Linked DNA regions of Homo sapiens: region 1 is linked to region 2. The links are contacts of gene promoters, found by promoter capture Hi-C in blood cells and fetal thymus (Javierre and others, 2016). All regions are on one chromosome and are shown on one strand. Each heading gives the region's core, a stretch centred on a gene start or on the middle of the fragment in contact. The rest is flanking DNA. Distances are from core to core; before and after follow the strand shown. Region 1 holds the start of CCDC71L (coiled-coil domain containing 71 like). Region 2 holds the start of ORC5 (origin recognition complex subunit 5).

Region 1 (5,261 bases), core at 118-2,617, 2.5 Mb after region 2:
ACAATGAAAAACTTTTGAGTTCAAAATTGCTCAGATATTTTGTATTCAAATATTTTTAAAATTTACTTAAGAGTTTTCTAAAAAATAGTACTATCATTTGCACACAGCAGATCAATAGGTGTCAGTCACCAGCTTAAGTTACACTTGTCAATATTCAAACTTGAATAAAATAAACACACATCACAACAGCGACACTTTGCACTATCAACAATGAAGCTTGCCCTCAACAATTATGACGTTACTGGTTTTAGTAACATAAAAATACATTGCTGGTTGACAGGAAGGATAAAAATGACATCAAGAATCTCAAAAAGTTATGTGAGGTGCCGGTCACCACATTTAGGCACTCAGGAATTAAAAATCAAATAAAAGCATAGCGAGGTGATGAATTTCCTCCTGGCTTCCCCCTCTACTTGTGCCATATGAGATAAAAGAGAAGGCAAGAGAATGAACGAAGATCATGAGATTTCTTTCAAAAACTATACACAAGCTAAGCTACAGACTTCACTTCAGAGGAGTAAGTGGATGCCTCATTATAAAGGCCACTATGCCAAGTTTCTTTTCACATTCTGTGACAAAGTACCCATGAAATACTTTCACTTTCCTATTAGTATACCAGTCAACTATATTAGATGTTGCTTCACATTTTAAAAGTTGTCACATAGGTTTTTACCAAAGGGCAAAAATAAAGATTTTTTACATCTTATTTCACAGACTAGAAATGGCATAATTTTTGAATAGTCCAGATGAATACCATATTGAATTCAAGATGGACAATCAGATCCAAAATGGAATCAGATAGCCCATGTAATCCAAAGAAGCATTTATGTGAGTTCAAGTATGCTAAAGTAACAAGGCATAGGAGAGAAAAATGTCAAGAATCTCAGTTAAAATAAATGAATGGTGTCAGTGGTTATGTTTCAGTGGTGTGCTGAGCAGTTATCCTCCCAGTTAAGCCAAATTTCAAAATCCTCTGGAAAACTATCTAGATAAGCTGTATGTCGAAATTGCATTCTAATATGGCCATTGGGTTTATTTTTCATTATTATAAAACTATATACAATAGTAAAGTTGTACAAATACATTTTTTCCAGGTGCTAGTTAGCTATAAAAGTTAACAATATATTTTTGGGAAGAAAACCCTATGCATCTGAAATACAATTGGCAATGGAAGCTAATAACCAAAAGATATGTCTAAGCTTCCTATCACAAATATAATTTAACACTCTCCATCTTCTAAGGAATTATTCATTTTTATTTACTCATGTGACAGTGTTTGTACAATGCATTATCATTGAGTAGTGAATAAAAGACTGAGGCTTACTAGAAAACTGGCATCAAGTTATATATATGTGTGTATATATATATCATATTATTTCTTTTAACAAGAACACTGAAATTGAAGTCACAACACTCCTATACGGACTACTAAACTTGAAATACTCATTTCAGAAAGCTATGCCATTTGAATTCTAGGAACGCAAGAGTCAAAATTGTAACTCTCATTATTCTCCTAAAAAGCTGCCAAGCAGAGATAAGCTTTAGTATTAAAGATTTCACATGTCAAGTTCCAGCCCAGTATGGATCGTTTCATGGCAGAATACTTAAATTTGAAATAATAGTGGTACAAAAACACTACTTGACCCTTTAGGTATTGCAGTAAAAGCTGGCTGTGGCACTGCTGGCTAAAAACTATTAAGTTTTCCTGCCACAAATGACCAAAGGCACTTGGATAATCAAGAATTCCACACTGGGCCATATGGTATAAACACTATAAAAGCGTAAAGAAGGGTCAGTATTCTGTGTGTCTCGCCTGTTTGATTCCTGTGGTCTTCAGCTGTCAAAGACCTAGAACTGCAAACATATAATGAGTGGCAAAAAGGTTAAAAAAAATGTTGGGACAAAAAAATCAACTAAAAATCAACTAATTTTCATTATGTTTGTAAAACTGATGAATATTAGTCTAGACATTTCTTGTTATCCAACAACAAAAACAAAAAGGAAATAGATTTCGCCCAAAGTAACCTTAACCAGTTATTTGATACCAAGAAATGCCTCCACCCCTCTTGATCATTAATAGTTCTAAGAATTCTAATGGGTATTCTGTTTATCATTTTAGTGATAATGTTTACACACATCCATCTCTCCTATGCAACTCCCATTTTAAAATACATTATCCTTGTAAAATACATTACAAGGATAATGTATTTTAAAATACTTTAACGCATAATATTCCTAGATTTGTATGTTAGACCAGGACAGGGGGCCAAATCATCTCCAGTCGGATTCCAGTGACTCCTGTAACCAAAACCAGTTCTTCACAATTTATTCATTTTTTTTAATCACACACCATATGGTTTCAATGCATTTTTTTATTCAATTCAAAAGAATTTAACAAGTTAACTTTTCCTAAACAAAAGTTTTCATGTGTATTCTACCATTTTTAGGAGCTCAGTAAATATAAACATTGTTTCAATACAAAACCTTTAAAAATACCTTGAAAATGTTTAAACAGTTGTATTTTGCATGTCTTTGTTTGTAATCACTGAGCCCATACAAATCCTTGCACTACTAACAGTCACAAGCTTGAACCTCTTAAAAAATATCCTCGATCAAAGCTTTGGAATCCAGTAAAAATTAGGAAACGAGTGGGCTTCAGAATACCCTGAGCACAAACTAGTGCAACACCACATGTTCGAACTTCTGTCCACAAAGAGGGGTGACAGTGAAATAGAAAAAGGGGGAGATAAAGAACAAGTAAATTCTGGCTTTATTACACAAGCACGAAACCAAATTCCTTTGGAAAAATAATGTCTTCGGAGGACTTCCAGACCAGTGAGGTAGAGTCCAACAGTGAGAAAACGGATCTGCCCCTAAGGTCCTGGAGACGTCTCAATCGGTGGTCAGGAAGAAAGGGACCTCCCCTGCGGGTCCAGCTGTCCCCTCCCTCCGCAGGCCGGGTACGGGAGGCAGCAGAGGGCACACCTGCCCCAGCGTCCAAGACGACCGCGCCGCGGCCCGGGACAGGGACAACCATCCGGCAACTTCTTCGCGCGTAAAGTGCATTGGGGGCCGGGGTCCTGGCCGGATCTGTAAACACTCGACTGACACTTGTTCATTCCTCCGGGCGGAAGGCCTGTCCCAAGGTCGGGGCCGGCAGGAGGCGCCCTGGAGGCCGCACCTCATGCCCGGGGCACCGGGAAGCGGCGGAGCCTCACCATGGGTTCCAGGTTCACTCGCAGGACCTGGCGCGCCCTGCGCCGCGCTGCCGCCAGGCTGCGCTCGCCCCACACGTCGCTGCCGACGCGGATGGTGGGGAAGGTGGTCAGCGTCGGGGTGGCCGCCCTCCAGATCTCCTCCAAGGTGCGGCCCCCGAAGCAGGGCCCGGGGGCCACGGGCTTGGCCGGGCAGCTCTCCTCGGGGGGCGGCGGCGGTGGGGGTGGCGGCCGGGGCTTCCTCCTGCGGGCAGCGGCCGCCCGGGCTCCGCGGCGCCTCCTCCTGGCCGCTGCGCGCGGAACCGGCCGGCGCGCCTGGCCGCGGGCTGTAGGGGGCCCCGGGGGGTCGGGTACCAGGGCCCGGCAGGAGGAGTAGCCGTAGACGTCCTTGCTGCGCAGGATGTGCGGGGAGAACTGGTGCTTGAGGCTGCAGAGGAAGCTCCAGAGCTCCGCGTCCGAGCTCATGAACTCCGTGCTGCGGGGCATGAAGAGCTTGAAGGCGTCGCCCAGCGCCTTGGTGCTGTCAGCCAGCGACAGTTGCGACCGCGAGTACACCACCTTCTCCTCCCGCGCCTCCAACCCAGCCCCGTCTTCTGCCCTAAAGTCGCCGCCCCGGGCGGCCGTGGCCGGGGCGACCGGGCGCCGGCGCCGCCGCCTCTTCATACTGCGCCGCATCGAAGGCCGCTCCGGGCCACTCACGCTCGCCGGGTCCCACTACTGCCGCCGCCGTCCCAGTCCGCGTTGGCTCCGCGGCGGCGGCTGCTGCTGGCGTCTCTCGCTACTTTTCTCGCCTCCGCCGCCGCCCCTCCCCCTCCGAGGGCGGAGGACGCGGGCGAATATCCTGCTGCCCGGTACAAGATGGCGGCCGGCGCCCACCCCTGGGCTTTGTCATTGGACGGCGCCTCGCCCCCCTGGTTTCTCTTTCTTCTCCTCTCTTGCCTCTTTTCGCCGGCTGCCTTTCTTTAAATGTGCCCGCCTCAGGCCCCTCCCACCGCAGCCCCGACTCCACCCATTGGGTGCTCTCAGAAGAGGGGCGGGGACTGATGGGGGAGAGGCCAGTTCCTGGAAGATGGTGCTGGGGTGGGTGATGGCCTTTGAACGTAAGTCAACGGTTGGGTGGATCTAGGAGGGCTGCCACGTCTAGAGTAAGAGGGTGGATGTTGGCTACACCATGGGAAGAGTGACTCTTAGAGTGAGGGGGTGTGCAGTTGTGGATTGAGCTGGGAGCTCTACCAGTGTGGATAACAAAGGGAGATTTCCCTGAAGGATGTTCCTGGTATCATCACAGCTAGGGAATTTGGGTTTAAGTCTAGGGGAAATGGGCCTTTCGCAATTCCCATCCACCCTCTCAAAGGCCTCTTCTGGCATCTTCATTCAAAACTCTTCCCTGTCTTGACCCCAGCCCATCTCAAGAAGCCAGTAGTAATCCAGAATCATTCAGGTAATGTGCGTGGCTGGCAGCTGAGAGATTTTAGTCTCCCTCTGGACACTGGAGCCATCTTCATATTTAAGAGAGACCCTGCTTATCCAGAAAGCAAAACATGTCATACCCTATAAAACTAAATACTCTTTGCTCAAGTTGATCAAAGATCTATTACAATAAAGCCATTCTGTGAAAAGAAAATATAGTTTTAAATACACAGTTCTTTATGGATGCCAATTCGTTTTTCATTTAGTTTTAAAATGTCAAAGCCACCCCTATCATTTAGAAAGGATGCATCATCGCAGACAACAGATAAGGTTTCGTTGAAAAACACAAATTGTTCAAAACACATTACCTTTTGTATTGGGAGGAGAGTAGTGGACATCCTTTAGTCATCTTTTCTGTCCTCTATACCTAACTCAGTTCCTGTCAGGTAGTGGACACTCAATGTGTTTGCCGAATGAATCAATGAAATACCACCGATTATCCCAAATAGAGTCAGAAATGTTGAAACTGCTTAGAACAGGACAATTAGATATTTTATATTGCAATTTTCACAGAACTCCTTTAAATTTCTTAAGGTTAAAAGAAAAAATCTCCTGACACTTAGAACTTTGAGGTGG
Region 2 (5,917 bases), core at 410-2,909:
AATATTGTTAAACATAATTTTCATTAAAAGCAAAGGTCAAAAACTCTTCTGTGATCCACCACTAAGTTTACTCATCCCTATTTGCCAATTTGCTCTTTCAGCAGGAACATTTCTGGCTGGAGTGATCTGCGTTCCATAGATGAAATGCAGAGAACATAATCAAGAAAATGCTCCAGTAATAATATAACTATAATTGAAAGCAGTATAAATAGAAAATTAATTGAAGATGCAGTTGTTGACCTCTAACTTCCCTAAATAATGCACCCCTTTAGACAGAGGGTAGTACTTTTCCACTAATGCTTCACAGGCCACCTCAAATTGCCATGCAATATTTCTAGTTGGATGAAAGTACAGTCACGTGTACATTCAAAGATGGACCACATATACAACAGTGATCTCATAAGATTATAATACCCTATTTTCACTGTACCTTTTCTATGTTTAGACACTTTTAGATGCAGACTTATCACTGTGTTACAACTGCCTACAGTATTCAGTATAGTAGCACCGCTGTAGAGGTTTATAGCCTAGGAGGAACAGGCTACACCATACAGCCTAGGTGTATAGCAGGCTACACCATCTAGGTTTGTGTAAATACACTTTCTGATATTCACAGGGATTAAATTGCCTAACGATGCATTTCTCAGGACGTATCCCCCTCACTAAGTGGCAGCAACGCATGACTGTACTTAAAAAAGCAAACCAGAAGATGGGGGTATGAGTATGACCCTGAATTCTCATTCACTCTCTTCGCAGGTAAGATCCAAGTTTGATTAATTCCAATTCTGATTGAGTCTGAATCAAAAAGCACATCAAAGACCACCAGAAAATAGTCAAAAATAGGTTAAATTTTGAATTGGTGAACGCTACCCTCTGCCTATTGAAAGGACTCCCTACGTATCTATGTTCATCCAGACAAGACAAACTCCTCTCTAGGGCATCCTGTGAACTATCAGTTAAGGAGAAAAGTTTACCCTAGACCTCTTCTGGACTGTTACAATTCTGGAAAAGCCAGTAAATTTTTAAACCTGAAGCACTGCTTTGGCCCTTAGTGGCCTTGAAAGCAACCACCTCTCTACACTTGACTCACTCCAACTACCGCACAGAAACGTGTGAACTTACATTTGAATAAATAACACCCTGCAAACACATCTGTTACATAAATGTCATTGGGTTGGGGTAAGATAACAAGCAACTTCTAGGAGCTAATGTGGGCAAACTTCTGAAAAGTGTGGCGTGTTTCAAATACGTCTTAGGCAACGTCCTATAGTGCAGGCCGGTCGCTCTCAGACTGTCTCCTCTTCAATATTCGGAAGAGACTGTGGGTGAAGCTGCAGTACAGAACCACAACACCCCTATTTAACGTAAAAACGGCCTTTTGGCCCTCAATCCAAACACGAAAAAACAAATATTGGAACAGGTCGCAAGACTACCGAAACGTCTGCCTCCAGGATCTGGAAGACAGTTTAACTACAATACCTCTCCAAACAAGGACTGCAAGATGGACACTTGAGACTCGCGACAAAGCACCACGTTTTCCAAGTGGGGCATTCTGGCAGGCACCACCGCAGAGGCCAGTGCAGCCAGCCCACAGGACCCTTGCACAAGACGGAGCCTCTCCCGAGTCTGGCGGCCCACGCTCCCGCCGGAAACCGGACCCGCAGCGTCGTGGGAGGAGCCTGCGCTGCCGGGCTGCGGCGTGACGGCAGCGCGTACGCCGAGCGTCGCCGCCGCTCTAGTCTCAGGGCCGGAACCATCCTCTTCTCGCTGGTCCTGTGCGCGCCGAGGTTTTGCCCATTCTTGGGCTTGGTGGGGATTTCGGGCTGACGCTTTTTCCACTCAAAGGCTAAGGAGACGACATGGAGATGGGCGAATAGGGAAGGGGTGGAAGGGGTTAAGGGGGTCCCGTGGGCCTCCAATGACCCCTGAACCCCGTGCCTTTAGTTTTACCGGCTGGAAGCCCCAAGTTTAGAAACCTTGAGTGCCTAAGAAGACGGACCCGGAGCTGGGGCCCTTAGAGGGACGTGGAAGGCGGACTTAGAAGACTAATATTGTCAAAAGATGTTTTTGTTGTCGTTTTTTTCCCTGACGACGTTGTGGGAAATTAGTGGCATTGAGTACAAAACAGGGTGTAATGGGGTTTAATGCACAGCTTGGAATTACTATTTTTTGTGCAAGCTTTAAACCAGATGTGGAAAGCCTCTCAGTCCTAATGGGATGAAGTCGTAGTGTGTGTTGGTGAGGTTGATAGTAAAAATAATGCTACTTTTAGCATTAGGCTTTCACGTGTATTTATTTGTGAGGCACCTACTAGCGACTAAACACTAGAAGATTCTGGAAATAAGATACAGAAGTAGGCAAGTGCATGGTGGAAAGAGAGCTTGGCGTCCTGAAACCCCTGGGTTGGGACCACTGACTGACTCAACTGCTGAATAGGGGGACTTTGGAATAGTTGAGCCTCAACTTCCTTATCTATAAAATAGGGATAATACTGGCTAGGTTATTGCTAGGAGTAGAAGATCCTGTACATACTACCTGTTATACATAAATTTAAATTGTGGACTTCAATCTGCCCATAGATTGTAGATCAGTCTTAGATTTGTGATGGTCAAAAGGATCTTTTGAGAGTTGTGGTATATAACGTATTAGCTAGTCAAAATAGTATTTTCACAGCAACAATTCAAAAGCATTTGCCCAGGTACTTTTTAATAGAGAATTCTAAAGGTTATAATGGGACCACCCATTAAATTTCAATGTCTCCAAGGGAAGCTGGCCTCTGATACTCTCCTAAGATGGTTATACGTCCGTAACATACTGTGCATATAAGGTATACATATATTATAATCATAACACGACATCTTTATAGCATTCAATAAAACTGACTAAACTGTCTAAAATGTTAGTCTCCCTCTCTATATACTTTATGAGGACAGGAAACACTGTCTTCACAGTTCAATTTCCAGCATACACAGTTAACGCCTGGCAGTTACATAATAAAGATAATTGTTGATCTGAGAGAACATGCCTTACCATCTGGATGATTTAGGATGGTTTCTCAGAGGAGAGAACCTGGAAGCTGAGGCTGAAGAAAAGATTCACCTGTGAGACCAAGAAGGAAATTGTAAACAAAAGAATGTACAGACAAAAAGGGACAAATGGGCAATCCCATAACTGAAACTAGCAAATAGTTTTTACATATAAACCTGGAGAGTAGTAGGAGGTCAGGCTGGGGACCAATAAAGAATTGTAGGCAGAGAAGCAAATGTTGAGATTTGACTTAGAAATATTCCTTCTGGCTACAGTGTGGAAAGTGGAATCAATTTCATTTGTTGAAACGACTATTGCAGTCTCCCAAACAGTGAATAATAATGGCCTCGATAGGCAGCCAAGATGGCCGAATAGGAACAGCTCTGGTCTACAGTTCCCAGCATGAGTGATGCAGAAGACGGGTGATTTCTGCATTTCCATCTGCGGTACTGGGTTCATCTCACTACGGAGTGCCAGACAGTGGGCACAGGATAGTGGGTGCAGTGCACCGTGCACGAGCCAAAGCAGGGCGAGGCATTGCCTCACTCAGGAAATGCAAGGGATCAGGGAGTTCCCTTTCCTAGTCAAAGAAAGGGGTGACAGACAGCATCTGGAAAATCGGGTCACTCACACCCTAATACTGCGCTTTTCCGACGGGCTTAAAAAATGGCACACCAGGAGATTATATCCTGCACCTGGCTCCGACGGTCCTACGCCCACGGAGTCTCGCTGATTGCTAGCACAGCAGTCTGAGATCAAACTGCAAGGAGGCAGCGAGGCTGGGGGAGGGGCGCCCGCCATTGCCCAGGTTTGCTTAGGTAAACAAAGCAGCCAGGAAGCTAAAACTAGGTGGAGCCCACCACAGCTCAAGGAGGCCTGCCTGCCTCTGTAGGCTCCACCTCTGGGGGCAGGGCACAGACAAACAAAAAGACAGCAGTAACCTCTGCAGACTTAAATGTCCCTGTCTGACAGCTTTGAAGAGAGCAGTGGTTCTCCCAGCATGCAGCTAGAGATCTGAGAACGGGCAGACTGCCTCCTCAAGTAGGTCCCTGACCCCTGACCCCTGAGCAGCCTAACTGGGAGGCACCCCCCAGTAAGGGCAGAATGACACCTCACACAGCCGGGTACTCCTCTGAGACAAAACTTCCAGAGGAATGATCAGGCAGCAACATTTGCTGTTCACCAATATCCACTGTTCTGCAGCATCCACTGCTGATACCCACGCAAACAGGGTCTGGAGTGGTCCTCTAGCAAACTCCAACAGACCTGCAGCTGAGGGTCCTGTCTGTTAGAAGGAAAACTAACAAACAGAAGGGACATCCACACCAAAAACCCATCTGTACATCACCAGCATCAAAGACCAAAAGTAAATAAAACCACAAAGATGGGGAAAAAACAGAGCAGAAAAACTGGAAACTCTAAAAAGCAGAGTGCCTCTCCTCCTCCAAAGGAACGCAGTTCCTCACCAGCAATGGAACAAAGCTGGTCGGAGAATGACTTTGACGAGTTGAGAGAAGAAGGCTTCAGACGATCAAACTACTCCAAGCTACAGGAGGAAATTCAAACCAAAGGCAAAGAAGTTAAACACTTTGAAAAAAATTTAGACGAATGTATAACTAGAATAACCAATAGAGAGAAGTGCTTAAAGGAGCTGATGGAGCTGAAAGCCAAGGCTCGAGAACTACGTGAAGAATGCAGAAGCCTCAGGAGCCAATGTGATCAACTGGAAGAAAGGGTATCAGTGATGGAAGGTGAAATGAATGAAATGAAGTGAGAAGGGAACTTTAGAGAAAAAAGAATAAAAAGAAACGAACAAAGCTTCCAGGAAATATGGGACTGTGTGAAAAGACCAAATCTACGTCTGATTGGTGTACCTGAAAGTGACGGGGAGAATGGAACCAAGTTGGAAAACACTCTGCAAGATATTATCCAGGAGAACTTCCCCAATCTAGCAAGGCAGGCCAACATTCACATTCAGGAAATATAGAGAATGCCACAAAGATACTCCTTGAGAAGAGCAACTCCAAGACACATAATTGTCAGATTCACCAAAGTTGAAATGAAGGAAAAAATGTTAAGGGCAGCCAGAGAGAAAGGTTGGATTACCAACAAAGAGAAGCCCATCAGACTAACAGCAGATCTCTCAGCAAAAACTCTGCACACCAGAAGAGAGTGGGGGCCAATATTCAACATTCTTAAAGAAAAGAATTGAAAAGAATTTTCAACCCAGAATTTCATATCCAGCCAAACTAAGCTTCATAAGTGAAGGAGAAATAAAATCCTTTACAGACAAGCAAATGCTGAGAGATTCTGTCACCACCAGACCTGCCCTAAAAGAGCTCCTGAAGGAAGCACTAAACATGGAAAGGAACAACCGGCACCAACCACTGCAAAATCATGCCAAAATGTAAAGACCATCAAGGGTAGGAAAAACTGCATCAGCTAATGAGCAAAATAACCAGCTAACATCATAATGGCAGGATCAAATTCACACATAACAATATTAACTTTAAATGTAAATGGACTAAATGCTCCAATTAAAAGACACAGACTGGCAAATTGGATAAAGAGTGAAGACCCATCAGTGTGCTGTATTCAGTAAACCCATCTCATGTGCAGAGACACACATAGGCTCAAAATAAAAGGATGGCGGAAGCTCTACCAAGCAAATGGAAAACAGAAAAAGGCAGGGGTTGCAATCCTAGTCTCTGATAAAACATACTTTAAACCAACAAAGATCAAAAGAGACAAAGAAGGACGTTATATAATGGTAAAGGGATCAATTCAACAAGAAGAGCTAACTATCCTAAATATATATGCACCCAATACAGGAGCACCCAGATTCATAAAGCAAGTCCTGAGTGACCTACGAAGAGACTTAGACTCCCAC

The links. The method cuts DNA at HindIII sites, captures the fragments that hold promoters and counts their contacts. A CHiCAGO score of 5 or more calls a contact.
Region 1: a contact is called between a fragment that was not itself captured here and the fragment with the promoter of ORC5 in region 2, in 1 of 17 cell types (total CD8 T cells). The highest score is 5.2, in total CD8 T cells.

What each region holds. Positions count from the first base shown.
Region 1 is chr7:106,657,007-106,662,267 of GRCh38, forward strand. CCDC71L (coiled-coil domain containing 71 like) reads right to left here and starts at 4,152. Exons shown (of 1, transcript NM_175884.6): 1 at 1-4,152. The coding sequence starts at 3,890. The coding sequence ends at 3,183. RefSeq lists an enhancer at 2,926-2,975 and a silencer at 3,326-3,595. The HindIII fragment of the contact is 340 bases long and covers 1,198-1,537 here.
Region 2 is chr7:104,206,354-104,212,270 of GRCh38, forward strand. It overlaps ORC5 (origin recognition complex subunit 5), which reads right to left and starts at 1,660. Exons shown (of 14, transcript NM_002553.4): 1 at 1,480-1,660. The coding sequence starts at 1,551. RefSeq lists enhancers at 1,319-1,508, 1,549-1,628, 1,679-1,838. The HindIII fragment of the contact is 7,936 bases long and covers 1-2,176 here.